4 separate regions of the Homo sapiens genome follow, and regions 2, 3 and 4 are each linked to region 1. The links are contacts of gene promoters, found by promoter capture Hi-C in blood cells and fetal thymus (Javierre and others, 2016). All regions are on one chromosome and are shown on one strand. The core of a region is centred on a gene start or on the middle of the fragment in contact, and the rest is flanking DNA. Distances in the headings are between cores, read along the strand shown.

What was found. The method cuts DNA at HindIII sites, captures the fragments that hold promoters and counts their contacts. A CHiCAGO score of 5 or more calls a contact.
Region 2: a fragment that was not itself captured here is called in contact with the fragment with the promoter of PDGFRA in region 1 in 17 of 17 cell types (M2 macrophages, naive CD4 T cells, endothelial precursors and 14 more); the score reaches 17.2 in M2 macrophages.
Region 3: a fragment that was not itself captured here is called in contact with the fragment with the promoter of PDGFRA in region 1 in 17 of 17 cell types (naive CD4 T cells, total CD8 T cells, activated CD4 T cells and 14 more); the score reaches 17.5 in naive CD4 T cells.
Region 4: a contact is called between a fragment that was not itself captured here and the fragment with the promoter of PDGFRA in region 1, in 1 of 17 cell types (activated CD4 T cells). The highest score is 6.0, in activated CD4 T cells.

The regions. Positions count from the first base shown.
Region 1 is chr4:54,227,308-54,230,911 of GRCh38, reverse strand. PDGFRA (platelet derived growth factor receptor alpha) reads right to left here and starts at 1,619. Exons shown (of 23, transcript NM_006206.6): 1 at 1,497-1,619. RefSeq lists an enhancer at 2,321-3,146. The HindIII fragment of the contact is 8,996 bases long and covers 1-2,481 here.
Region 2 is chr4:53,902,408-53,906,011 of GRCh38, reverse strand. All of the region lies in intron 1 of LOC124900702 (a long non-coding RNA gene), which reads right to left. Among named protein-coding and RNA genes, the nearest start is that of CHIC2, 160 kb to the left of the region's middle. The HindIII fragment of the contact is 1,398 bases long and covers 1,052-2,449 here.
Region 3 is chr4:53,922,375-53,925,978 of GRCh38, reverse strand. No RefSeq gene overlaps it. Among named protein-coding and RNA genes, the nearest start is that of CHIC2, 140 kb to the left of the region's middle. The HindIII fragment of the contact is 7,899 bases long and covers 1-3,604 here.
Region 4 is chr4:53,945,204-53,948,807 of GRCh38, reverse strand. No RefSeq gene overlaps it. Among named protein-coding and RNA genes, the nearest start is that of CHIC2, 120 kb to the left of the region's middle. The HindIII fragment of the contact is 2,358 bases long and covers 468-2,825 here.

The DNA.
Region 1 (3,604 bases), core at 370-2,869:
ACATATTCAATGCCAAATGGACGCCGCCCGCTCCCTGGGCGCAGCCGGGCGGAGTTAATTTCGTGTGTAAATCTGGTTTCCATGGGGGTAGACAGCAGAGGAAGGAGAAGTACGCACAGACGGCTCTGAAGCCGGCAGGGAGAGGAATGGAAAAAAGGCCAACTAGAGAGGACCGAGCAGCGCTGGGCGAGCTCAGACGGCAAGTGCCACGCACCCCCGCGCGGAGAAGGGTGCCGGGTAGGGGGTGTCCAGGGCTCGGGTGCCCGGAGGGAGAATATGGTTTACCTCCCACCTTTCTGTCTTACCTGCAAACAAGTTTCCCCAGTTCCAAGTCGTCCCTAACTTCCTCACAAGAAGTTCGGCACCTTCCTGGAGACCTTTCCTCTCTTCCTGCCTGCGGCCAGAACTGAGCGAAAGCAGAGCCCCCGGGCAATGCAGAAATGATTCCACCGAGGAGGGGGCGCGGGAAGACAGGCGGGGGCGGGGGCCACGGAGCACAATGAGGGCCCCTTGGTGTGCGGTTCGAAATTCCTCAAATCCCAGTTGCTGGAATGCGAGGCGACGACGACTTCTTCACTCAGGGCCAAATGTGTTTGTCATTATTCCAGACCGCCCGCCCGCGCCGCCGCTGTCGCCCCCGCGCTAGGGCGTGCAACCCGAGCACACTGCCCGGCAGGCACCCGCTCTCCCTGGCACCTCACTGACCCAACAAACCGCTCCAGAGCGCCCCAAACCCTTGCCCACGCCCGCGCGCCTCTGCTTGTCCCGCAGCCGCCTCACCGCCGCGCCAAATCTGGCCCCGACTCTCTCCCAGAGCAGCGCCGTCCAGTAATCACGCGCATTCGGCCGGCTCCCTGTGCTGTAGGCCAACACCGAGGTCCGGTCTCCAGCCGAGCCCAGCCCGCCTCCTGCGCCCCGCAACCCCTTCGCGCGCCCCCCTCCACGCTCCCCTCCACGCTCCCCTCTCCCCACCTCCCCCTGGTCCCCCAGCCGCGCTCCACACCATGGGCTGCAGCGCTGTCCCGCCAAACCGCAGGCGAGGAATGAAAACACTCATTTAAAACCTGTCGCCTTCCAGGACCCACTGCCAAGAAGAGGGCAAACACCTCTGCCTCCACCCCCAGTTCCTTGGTGTTCGGCCCAGTATTCACGAACACCACCCCCACTCCCAAAAGAAACCTCAAAAATGTAAGCCTAAACAATTTCTTTGGGAGGCCATAGGGTTGTTAGAAAAACATTGTTTTTAAAAATAGGTCTGGAAAATGTGTGTTTAAAAAAAATACCTAGACTTTCTAACTCTATGGTTATCTCCCACCCGTCCCCAAGTGAAGTTTATTCCGAAAAAAAAAAATTACTCTCTGGACACACAACTGGAATCCAGCTCCTTTTTTTTTTTCTTGTCGCCCAAAGTTTGAAGTTACTTCGCTTTCTCCAGTCCCAGAGTCTGATCAGGGACTTCCCTTATAAACAAAAAATCATTTTTTCTTTTCCCTTACCTTCTCCTCCGATGTTATTCCGCAATGAATGTCCCACACATGGAGTAAAGAGCGTGCCCACGGCCTCCAATGATCTCTTGCAGTCTCCTCCTCTGTTTCTCTCCCTGTAGCTCCAACAGTAATGGGCTCAAAAACCGCGTTTTGTAATTGATTCAATGTTATAGTCCATCCTTCTAAAACTAATCATTTGCTCTAAGTAAATAGCTGTCAGGAAATAAGCCCCCCCTCAACCTTGGTCTCTTCAAAATAAAAGTTTCTCTCAAACTCCCTGCGCTCCGAATCTCCCAGTGTCCAGATTGCGCCTTCGCTTTTTGCTCTTACGCAATCAGGGGGTCCAGTCCCAACCCCCAGACTTCGACAACAACTGGGGGGCGGGGAGAAGCAGACCAGATGGGATGGGGGGTGGTGGAAGGGGGAGGTGTTGGTGCTCTGCCGGGAAAGAGGTTTTGTGAAACTACAAACAGCCCATCATTTCCAGAATGAGTTTGCCTCCCCATTTTGGGGTTATTTTCTTAGACTGCTATAGTTTTGTATTCTCTTTGAAAAGAAGAAAAGGAACATACAAAATTGCATTTAATACCCAGAGAGAATATAAATCTAGAATCAAGAAATGTCCCTTCTACAAACTCGGCCCAACGAGAAATAGGGCCCTCGGGAGAAATCTCCAAGCGGTTGCGCCGTTTTGAACTAGGGGTCTTTTAGGGGAAGGGCTATATAGTTGCTAGTTATTTAATAGGATTGGGCAAACTGTTGAGTCCAATATGACAATGATGGGTTTTTGTTTTGTGTGGTGTGTGTGTGTGTACAAGACTGGGTGGTCTGAAATACGGTACAAAGAAAAGAGGGTCTGTGTAGGTTTGGAACGTTCTCCGATAGAACGACCTTTACTCCCTTGAAGTCACTTATCTGGTCGTGCCTTTGTTTTCGGGGTTATCTGGGCGAGGTTGCCCTGGCTTCTATCTCGCATACAAAAAAAGCTCAAGCTTGGGCGTTTGAGGAATCGTACCACCGCCTCCGCGTCGTGGGGGAGGATGCCTTTTGATTCTCCCTCCGTTCCCTCCCGCCGCGTGGGTCGAACCCTACGAATTCCTTGGAATTGACAGCTGAGCCCCAAACCCTGCGCCCAAGGCGAGAGGCCAGTGTCGGGAGGAAACGATCCTGCCGGCGAGGGAAAGGGGGCGCTGATGCTCCAGGAACCAGACCTGGGCAGAGTGGGGCTTCCCAGCGACAGCGGGGGAGGGGAGCGCGTTCACCTTCATCGCTCTCTGATTTTTGAATTCTCCTGTTGGGGTTGGGGGTCATCCTTCATCCTTCTCCCTCAACCCCACCCCAACACACGCACTCTGAAAATGGCCAAAGTGGCCAGGTTGGGACTGGCATGTCCAACAGCCGTCTCCTCCTTCACCAGGAGGGTGGACACAGTGCAGTGGACAGGGGAGAGTCACAGAGAAGTACTCCAACGGGCGCGGTGCTGTGCCTAACCAGGACAGGATCTTGGGATGTCAGCCTCGAAAACAGGGCGCCTGGGGCTGCGCTGGGGGTCCCATTGCCGCAGTTCTTCTACGCGACCCGCTCTCGTGCATCTTCAGCTTGGGTGACTGCACCGCTCGCTATTACTTCCACATGTCCCTTCAGGAAATCATTGAAGGCAAATATATGAACAGCCCCTTGTTCGGAATGCTAACAGGATACCGTAATGTTTGTAGAAAATGAGCGGGAACAAACGATCCCCCCAAAAATCAGAGTGCGGAATAAAAGGCAAAAGCGGGTGCTGGGCCACATGCTGTTAAGTTGAGAACCGGGTTTTTAGGCTAGTTGCCCCAGAGGGTAGGAGGCGAGACAGACAGCCTACCCAGAGGGGCTGCTTTGCTTCGGCGACACTGTTAGTCCGGTCAAGCCAGGGTCTTCCGTCCGCAGGGCCCCAGCGCTCTCCGCCCACAAATGGTAACTTCACAGTTCATTTCAGAGCCGTTTAATGGGGCCCGAGAAGCAGTCCGGGCGGGAGTGTCTCCAGGCAGCGACTCCTCGGGAGTTTAAAGCAGAAAGCAATGGATGAGCAAGCGAGCACCCAGTTGTCCTTCTGGTAGTAATTACCTGCCTAATTTGAA
Region 2 (3,604 bases), core at 501-3,000, 330 kb after region 1:
TAGGCCCTGCTTGATACTTCCAAAATAACGAAGGACACACAGGCACGCCTATAAAGCGTAATGACTGTTTAGTTGGCCTTTCCGTGGGAATATAGAATCTGCCAAACATAACTACTGATTTAGAGCTCGTCTAGGAATTCCTCCTAGCCCTGAGGTCTCAGTGTTTAGAGATATTTTCCATAAACTGGCTTAAGCCACTGCAGCATTGAATAAATAAATGCAAAGCACAAAGCTGCCAGTGTCTCTCTAGAAGAGTAGATTCTGTGCAGTGGGGTAACACAATGAGCTGTGCATGGAGCCTCTCAGAACGGTGAGTAGCGAACTTCCATCTGACAAAACAGATTTTCTAGTTTGACTTTGAACTTAAGTCAACAAAGATAGAAAAAGTGTGGAAAGTGTAGTCATTTAAAAAGAAGGTCCTGGTGACTATTTTGCTAACTGCAGAAGGCTCTTTACCAGAGTGTTAGCAGTTTATTTTTCAGAGCATTTCCTCAAGACAATGTGTATGAAAGCATTTTGTAATCAGTGGAGTACTTAAACGGCAATGACTATGCAGATACATTTCCAAACTCCTCAAAGTGAAAATGTGTTAGAACATCAGATAAGAGTGAACAAAAGCACAAAAGAGGCATTGCACATCCCTTATAGGCACACGAGACAGTGTGTTCCATTTTGAGAGATCTTATTAAGGAGATTGAAGAGGCTGGGATAATTTTGAATACGATTTCTACCCAGGCAGAGTCAGATGCAGAATTAAAGAAGATAAAGTAGGAGACTTTAGGAGAAATGTATACAGTTCTCATTACCATATACATCCTCTCTTCCTTTAGTCAGAACAACAGCTCTTTGAAATAAGGAAAAAAATAGTCTTGCTCAGCCAAGAGGAACCTGGAAGCTCCCCTTGGATGTTACTGCCCAGGCAAACCTGATGTTCTGTAGTGTGTTCACTAGGATTCCAGAAGCTGGCCAAGTAAGGATGAAGCATCACTGTTTTAGGGGGAGCCAAACTGTGGTGTCCATGGCTGTTCCCCTATGCATCAGTCATTAAGCTTGCCACCAGCTGCTGACATCTAAAGCTGAAAGGAGGGATGTCACGGTACAATAAAATGTATAAGCCAATAAACCTTTATTTGGTGATTGGTCATGCTCTTCTGTATCCTGCCTGGCCATAGCCTATTTTTATCACCAGACTCAAGGAGGGCCTTCACTCACAGAGCTTGTCCACAATAAAGGCTCATTCGTTCCAGGCATAAGCATTGCCCCTAGAGCAGCCTCTACCTTCTCTTAAATAAGAAGACCAAGGGAAACCCAACAACAATAGCAACAATAATAACAAAACAATTGAGGACTGGACACTCACGAGCAGCACCATTGGCTGGGAGACCTGGTCCAGGATAGGTTGGGTGCTGGTTCCCAGGAAGGTGTACTTTTCACTGGAGTCTCAGTTGCTGGAGAAACAATGCTGAAGGTTCTCTTTGGTGACCATGTTATGTTTTTTTGTCTATGGAAACTCAAGCCCCGTGTGGAGGGAGTGCAGAACTTTGAAAGAGCAGTTCAGTAGACACACTAGCCAGGTCCCAGCTTTTCTATAGAAGGATCCTCATTCCTTGCTCAGAGAGATGCTGCCTTGATCTGAGTCTTTATTACTGAGAGAGGAGAAACTGTGCTGTGATATCAGCTATTGTGGTCAAGTTCATAGAGAACTTCTATCTAATCCTCCAAACCTGCTCTTAAGGTGGGTGTTTCCCTCATGACCCCACAAATCTAACTTTGTGTCATAGAGCTTTGATTTTTGTTCCAGCCCTGACACTTTACAGACATGAGCAATCTTAAGCAAAATGAGTTTCGAGAAGGTTACATAATTTGCTTCTTCCAGGTAAAAGAGACAGCAGGTATAAAGGTCCTGAGGTAGGAATGGAATGGGCATGAATGAATGAGTGAAAGTGCCTTGAAATAATCTCTTCACCAGGTTGTTACGTTTTCTTTATTTATGTCTTCTTAGCAAGGATTTCTCTAATATCCATCATATCTCTATTCCATTCTCCTGATTTCATTTCTTCAGAACACTTATCTCTTTCAGAAATTATCGTATTTGCTTCCTTGTTATTGTCTTGTTAGCTGAAAAGTCAATTCCAAGACAGTAAAGGCCTTGATGGTTTTATTCAACTACAGTATTCTCAGCACCTCAATGCCTGATACAAACAGATACACATCCCAAACACCTTATCTGAAGCCCATCGGGGCCAAGTGTTTTGACAATTCAGAATTTAGGAATCTCAAATGGTGAGTATCACTAAGTTATATAACACCCCCACAGAGTTTGGGGCTGCATCCCATAATCAAACACATTTGCTTTTCTGCTGTGAAACATGCAAAATGTATCAATACAGTAGTGCCCTCTTATCCATGGGGGATCCAGTCCAAGACCACCAGTGGATGCCTGCAAGCTTGGGCAAGACCAAACCCTATGTAAACTCTTTCTTTCTCCCTCTTTCTTTCCTTTCTTTCTTTCTTTTCTTTTTTCTTTCTTTCTTTCTTTCTTTCTTTCTTTCTTTCTCTTTCCTTTCTTTCTTTTCTTTTTTCTTTCTTTCTCTCTTTCTCTCTCTCTCCCCTCCCCTCCCTTCCCCCCCCTCCTTCCCTCCCTCCTTCCTTTCTTCCTTCCTTCCCTCCTTCTGTTTAAGATAGAGTCTCGCTCTGTTACCCAGGTTGGAGTACAGTGGCACTATCGCAACTCATTGTAGCCTCAACCTCCCGGACTCAAGCGATCCTCCTACTTCAGCCTTCTGAGTAGCTGAGACTACAGGTGTGTACTGCCACATCAGGCTAATTTTGTTAATTTTTTGTAGAGACAGGATCTTCATATGTTGCCTAGGCTGGTCTTGAATTTCTGGACTTAAGCAGTCTTCCTGCCTTGGCCTCCCAAAGTGCTGGATTACAGGTGTGACCCACTACACCTGGCCTCATTGTGTTTTTTCTTATATAACCACACTGTATGGGGAAGGCAGCACATACAACATGGATATACTAAACAAAAGGATGATTCATTTCCCAGGTGGAACAGACTGGGACAGCGTGAGATTTCATCACACTTCTCTCAGAATGGCAAGCAATTAAAAACATAAATTTTTTAGTTCTGGATTTTTCCATTTAATATTTTTGGACTGTTGTTGACCATTGGTAACAGAAGCCTCGGAAAAAGAAACTATGGATGAGGGGAGAAGACTGTAGTCACAATTAAGGCAGATCATAAAGACTGGGGACTGCCATGCATCCGTTCCGGTGAGTTCAATGAGCTTGCTGCCAGCTTACAGAAAATCTTTTGGTTTTCAGAGCATTTTGGGAGTTTGGAATTACAAAGGATTGAAGATCTGCAATCAATTAGTTTGTATTGACTGCATAAATTAACAAAACATGCCTTCTATGTGCCCAGGCAGTGTGGTGGGACTGGCTCTACAGCAATGAAATAAATCTGGTATGATCCTTTTCAGCTCAGATCTGCAGAGAAAACAGGCGGTCACACAATGAGTTATCACGCGCTGCTTCAAATGAGAAGCCCTTGCTAAGGAGAGAGAGCCTGTGTCTTCACAATCATCAAAGAAAGAAG
Region 3 (3,604 bases), core at 594-3,093, 310 kb after region 1:
GAACTTCTAGTTAATGCCTGACTACCTCCAACTCGTGTTCCTAACCTTGGGTCTTGGAGAAACCAGTTAACAGCTCTGGGTCTCATTTCCTCCTGTCTGATGATAGTGACGGTGACAGTGGTTGTCTCAACCAAGCTACCTACAGTCAGAGCCTGAGACAGGTATTCCTGTTCAAGCGACTGAGTGAGGTGCCCTCAGGGGTTAGGAAGTGAGGCAGCAGGACAGGGAAGGGTGAAGGGATGCTGGGTTGGAGACTAGCTTCAGCCTGCTGCAAAGAGGACCTTGGGAGCACAGCTCGCCCTAAGAAGTTGGTGCTACTTTAAGGCAGGGGGCAGGCTTTTGTACTCCAGGACATCAAGTCCATACAGAGGGCCAGCCTTTTGTATCCCAGGTCATCAAGTTGATGCAGGGGGGCAACCTTTTGTACCGTAGGTCATCAGTCATTGACCATGAGCTGCACAGAGTAACCCTTTAGGTGAGGCTGCTCCCTTTGGCTGAGAGTAATTCTCCAAAGAAAGGCTGCAGGTAGAGCCATCAGCAGCCAACCCTCACAGCAGTGTGGGTGGGGACAGAGGTGGGGTGAGTCAGATGCATCTCTGGGCATGTGCATGTAAACTCTGACATTTACCGAGTGCTTATTATTTGCCAGGTACTTATCTAAGTACTTTACCTACACTAACAGATGATGCTCATGCCACCCTATAAAGTAGATATATCCTTCTACTATTAGCTGCATTTTACAGATGAAGAAATGGAGGCACAGAGAGGTTAAGTAACTTGCCAAAGGCCACACAGCAAGTGAAGGGGAGAACCAGGTTGGGAAAAATGATCTCTAAGTAACTTTAGTTAGGAATTTCAGACTGGTGTCATTTATTTAGTCAGTTATCAATTCATTCCACATTTATTGAGAGCCTCTCATGTCCTAGAAATGACAAAGATAAATCAAACATGTCTCCAGCCCTCCAGGAACTCAAACTTTACTGGGAGAAGCACTGTGTGCATTACTTAATACTGGACTGTGTCCTGAGCACTCTGAGAGGGAAGTACAAAAGTGTGCTACTTCTGCCCTGGGGCATTCGGAGAGATGGCTGGGAGAAGATAAGGCTGAAGTTTTGTCTGGAAGGATACGCAGATATTACGGGTTAAAGGATGAGAAGGACATTTCTAGCAGAGGGAACGGTGCATGGCAGGACAAAGACACTGAAAGATGGAGGTGTGGGGCAGGGTGGAGGGAATGAGAGTGCTCAGAGACACGCTGGGATGGCTGCAGGCTGTGAGAGGCTTGTGGGGTTTGGCCAGTGTAGGGAGACCCAGGTCCTCAGCCAGTCCAAGTTCAGTCTCCACCCGCAACAGACTGGCTCAGTGGAGGTGGCAAGGGATGATGGCTGTCTCAGTCCCCAAGCCCCCTTTCAAGTGGAAAAGAATCAGCAGAGCTGCCTGCCTGCCCTCCATTCAGCCTGGCTCCAACCACCTCTGAGCCACAGGCAGACGGGAAAAGTTATCCTGAGCAAGGCCTCCAGGCAGGGAGGGGTTATATTCTGGAGTGTCACAGAGGGACCTCTGCAATTGACTCAATAAGAAAACAGGATTTTAGAATAAAAAAGGAGAGTTTTTTTTTTTGACACTGTCATGTGTCTCTCTCTATCTTTGGTTCGTTTTTAAAAAAACAAGGAGTACAATTCATTGCTCTTATCTTTCTACCCCATCCTGTTGAAATCCAAGTGTGATCCTCTGCAAGTCTAGTGCACACTCCCACCTTTATCAAAACCCACCTTTACGATATCAGTTATCCTGCTGCTAGATACCTGCCGCCGGAGGAGGGAGTGGTCGCCAAACCAGATGAAGTTCCCAGTTCTCTCCCAGGTGACTGTCTGGGTATAGTTGTGATTCAACTGTTAATGATGTAACCAGAGCCCAGGGGAAACATTGCCAAGAACTAGGACACCTTTTGCAAAAGTTTGAAAAGAAAAAAAAAGGGTGAGAGATAAAAGACTACAAATTAGGTGCAGTGTGCACTGCTCGGGTGATGGGTGCACCAAAATCTCACTAATCACCACAAAAAAACTTATCTCTGTAACCAAATACCACCTGTTCCCCAAAAACCTATGGAAATAAAAATTTAAAAAAAGATTTCTTGTAATAGTTTGTCTCCTTAGGATAAATATCTTAGAAGTATGCCACCATGCCCAGCTAATTTTTGTATTTTTAGTAGAGACAGGGTTTCACCATGTTGGCCAGGATGGTCTCTATCTCTTGACCTTGTGATCCACCTGCCTCGGCCTCCCTAAGTGTTGGGATTACAGGCGTGAGCCATCACGCCCAGCCTAAACTTTTCTTTATTTTAGTGTGTGTGTTTTCTTTTTGAGACAGAGTCCCACTTTGTCGCCCAGGCTGGAGTGCACTGGCACTATCTTGACTCACTGCAACCTCCATCTCCCAGGTTCAAGCGATTCTCCTTCTTCAGCCTCCCAAGTAGCTGGGATTACAGGCATGCACCACCATGCCTGGCTAATATTTGTATTTTCAGTAGAGACAGGGTTTCACCATGTTGGCCAGGCTGGTCACGAACTCCTGACCTCAAGTAACCCACCCATCTTGGCCTCCCAAAGTGCTGGGATTACAGGTGTGAGCCACCACGCCCAGCCTATTTTAGTGTTTTAGCAAAATCTTTTGAACACGATCAAATAAACTACCCATTGGTACTTAACTGTATTTTCATGAAAACTGAAAAAGTTAGGAGGCTTTACAGGGTTCCAGTGAAGCTGATATGGACGTTGAGCATTTAGAGGTCTCTCAATAAACATTTGTTGATTGGATGAATAAGTAGATACTGTAATGAGTTAGCTGAACCGCCACGTTGGAGAAGGGGAACATGAGTCAAATATCATTGAATTAAACTCTTTTTCTTTTTTTTTTTTTTTTTGGAGACAGATCCTTACTCTGTCACCCAGACTGGAGTGCAATGGCATGCAATTCTCCTGCCTCAGCCTCCAAAGTAGCTGGGATTATAGGCGTGCACCACCATGCCCAGCTAATTTTTGTATTTTTAGTAGAGACAGGGTTTCACCATGTTGGCCAGGCTGATCTCGAACTCCTGACCTCAGGTGATCTGCCCGCCTCAGCCTCCCAAAATGCTGGGATTACAGGTGTGAGTCACTGCACCTGGCCAAACTCTTTTTCTTTAGTGTGACAGTTAGAGATTAAATGTGAAAAAAAGGGATGAGTGAAAGGGACAAATTAGGCAAACTCTTTGATTTGAGGCCTGAGAAACAACTTTGAGTCATGGTGACTTGTACTGAGAAAACAGACTTGAGTAAGAACGGATTTGGGGCACAGAAATCAAGAGTTCTGTTTTCAGGGTTTCTCAGTCTAAGCTCTATTGACATTTTGGGCCAGATAATTCTTTCGGGGACTGTCCTGTGCACTGCAGGATGTGCAGCAGCTTCCCTGGCCTCTACCCACTAGATGCCTGTAGCACACCTCCCCACCACCCGCAGGTGGCTTCAAACGTATCTCCAGATATGGCTGAATGTCCTTGGTGGGGCCAAACTCCCCAGGTTGACAACCATGGGATTAAGGTGAAGACCCTGTGAGATCGCCAATG
Region 4 (3,604 bases), core at 397-2,896, 280 kb after region 1:
CGTTGGGAAAGAAGGAAGTTGGGTGCTAAGATAGAACATGATGAGAGTTCCTATGTTACACAGGGTTACACAGGGAATTCTTTCCTGAGGAGGTGACCTCCATGCCTCTTGAAGGAACTGCACTTTAAAATATTTTTGGAAAAGAGTAAACATATCACATCTTTTTCTTTGACCAAAGGTATTCACCTGGAAGTTAAGGGAATGGTGTGAAAGCATACTCTATGGGGAAGCAAACTGGTTTCGAATCTCAGCCTCATTATCTCATTAAATATAACTCACACTCTTCCTATTTACAGACTCTTGGATCCAACCATACTGGTTTGTTCACTGACCCCCAAATGCTCTGAGTCTGCCTCCTCTTAGCGTTTGCTGGCCATGATTTCTTTCCTCTACCTCCCACTCCCCAGTGTTCTCCTCCTTCTCTCCTGTCCTTCTTCAAGTTCAAGTCCTTCCTCCACAGGGAAGCTTTCCCTGATGACCCTGAACCACAGAGATATCCTCCTTCATGACCTCATATTTATCCATCCACACACCAACCCACCCAACCATCAACCCATGCATCCATCCATCCAACTTTCCATCCATCCATCTACCCATCTATGTTAGTCAGTGTTCTCCAAAGAAACAGAACATATATTTTATGTTCTAAGCCTATATAAAAGTATTGAGCCCTTACACAAACATATGAATATCAAGCCCCAAAATCTAGAAACAAGCTGTGAAAATGTTTTGTGATGAGCTGTTTCATATCACAAAATGGGACCTGAGTTTTGATTCAACAGATTCCAAACCCTTTTTTTGTAGAATATAAGAAGTGAGATTTCTGAGCCTATTGAGCCCTTACATATATATATACACACACACCTACGTGTATAAATTATAATAAACATCCTCATAAATCTCTTTATATTACATTATATAATTTAGTATATAATATAATATATATTATATATGAGAGAGAGAGAGAGAGGGAGATTATAAGGAATTGGCTCAGGTGGTTATGGAGGCAGCCAAGTCCCAAGACCTGCAGGGTGAGTTGACAGCCTTGAGAACAAGGAGGAGCAAATAGCTCAGTTTGAGTCTGAGGACAGTAAAAATGGTGATGTCCCAGTTTGAAGGCAGTCAGGCTGAAGAATTCGCTCTTAGCCTTTCTGTTCTATTCAGGCCTTCAACTGAATGGATGAGGCCCACCCACATTAGAGAGCGTAATCTACACAGTCTACCGATTTAAATGTTAATCTCACCCAAAACACCCTCGCAGACACACCCAGGGCAATATTTGACCAAGTATGTGGGCACCCCATGGCCCAGTCAAATTGACACATAAAATTAACCATCACACCATCCATCCATCTAATGTATTTGTATTCAATACTATGTACAAAGTGCTGCTGTGTCACTACACTTACTGTCTTTGTTAATCTGAGTCCTCTACAGGCAGACACCAAGATGGAATTAAATATGCAATATTTTATTAGGGAAAATGCTCATGTAAGAGAAAGTGAGGAGGGATCTGGAAAAGGCAGAGAGAGCCATTGACTGCAATGCAAATCTAATCTTCCAGTGAAGGAGAGAGGGTGGGCAGAAGCATTCTAGACCCCTGTCCAGTCTAAGGGCAGTTTGGTAAAGGTACCTGGAGAGGCTTTGAGCACAATTTGCTGTAAGAGGAGCCCTGCATTTTCCAGGAAAGGGTCTGCCTTAGCACATCAATTTCAGGGAGCAGCTGCTGGGGCCCTTAATCAATGATATTCTCTGAGGTTGGAGGTTTGTGAGGAGCTTTCTCATGGCCACCACGGTCCACTCCTTTGCTACACAGACGTACTTCTCCATGTAGATTTTGGGAGCAACTCTTCCATGATTCCCATGATCCCCTTTGACTGAGGGGACAGTCCTCACCAATGACAAATGAGGATTGCAGTACATACAACTGGCTGCCTCACCCCTCTGGTAGGATACCTCCACCCACCCAGCAGTTATCAGTTGCCAATTAGCCTGCACTCCAGCTGCCCACAGTGGTCTCCTTCTCATGAATGTGCACCATATTGGGCTTATGCTCTTTCCTGGCTCACTGTCCCATTCCCCTCCCTGACTTCCTGGGATCACTTCCTGAATCAATCACTTGTACTCATTCTGTCTTGGGATGTGCTTCTAGGGGAACCCAGACTAATATAATAAGGAAACCGTTAATAATATGGTTCGGAAATAGTTGTTCTTCTCTAAGGATACACTTAGGCTTTAATTTCACGATTCAGTGAGGATCGCTCTTAATACAAAGTATCACACAGAATACTTAATAGGCCATTTGAGAGGCTCCTTAAATTATACAAGTTCTTTTGTATTCACCATCCTCAGTTATTTGGGGAAAACTCTTCAAACTGTTTCTCCTCTGCTCTCACACCACCACCACAACCATCAACACAGAAGAAAGCTGTGACCAAAGGCATGGGGGGTTTTCCCCACACACCAAGCAGCAGACATTGATGCTGGAAGTAGCATCAGATCCCACAGAGTGAGAGCTCAGTCCCCAAAACTGCCCCCACTCTGCCACCTCCAGACCCCAGTCACAAGTCCAGGCCTCCAGAACTTCTGACTGACTGGCTTCAAGTTGAGGTTCTCACGATTCCCTCTTTGGGTTTGATTAATTTGCTGGAGTGGCTCACAGAACCCAGGGAAACATGTTTACTGGTTTATTATAATGAATATTACAAAGGATACAGATGAAGAGATGCATAGGGTAAGGTATGGGGAAAGGGCCACAGAGCTTTCACCCCCCACCAGAGGCCCCCACCCTCCAGGAACCTCCTGAGTTCCACTATCCTGAAGCTTTCCAAACCCTGTCCTCCTGGGTCTTTATGGAGACTGCATTACATAGGCATGATAGACAACCATGTAGAAATGTGATTGGACAAAAAGCACATAATCTAAACCCAGCAAGGCCTGTGTGTTTAGGCTTTTCTTGGCCTCTCTGTGCAGCCTTCCTTCCTCTAGGGTATGGGGCTGGACCCCTCTGGAATGAGGGGCTTCTGACCTACAATCAGTTTCGAGTCCTGCCTTAGGCAGATGAAAGGAGGACAGGGGAAGGTCAGAGAGAGAGATTCTGTTTCCTGAGACCTGCTGCTGAGGCCTACAGCACCCCAACATTATAACAAAAGACTATGGGGGTTATGATCCAGAAACCATGGATGAAAACCTATACACACACACACACACACACACACACACACACACACCATGGCTGTGTAGAAAATTGTTATAGGCGGGCATGGTGTCTCACGCCTGTATTCCCAGCATTTTGGGAGGCTGAGGCAGGTGGATCACTTGAAGTTGGGAGTTCGAGACCAGTGTGGCCAACTTGGTGAAACCTAGTCTCTACTAAAAATACAAAAATTAGCTGGGTATAGTGGTGTGCACCTGTAATCCCAGCTACTCAGGAGTCTGAGGCAGAAGAATTGCTTGAACCCTGGAGGCCAAGGTTGCAGTGAGCTGAGATCACACCACTGCACTCCAGCATGGGCGACAGAGTAAGACTCCATCTCAAAAAAAAAAAAATTGTTACATTTAAATCATGTGGTCTCAGTCTTCGAAAAGCAGGCAATACTTTGTG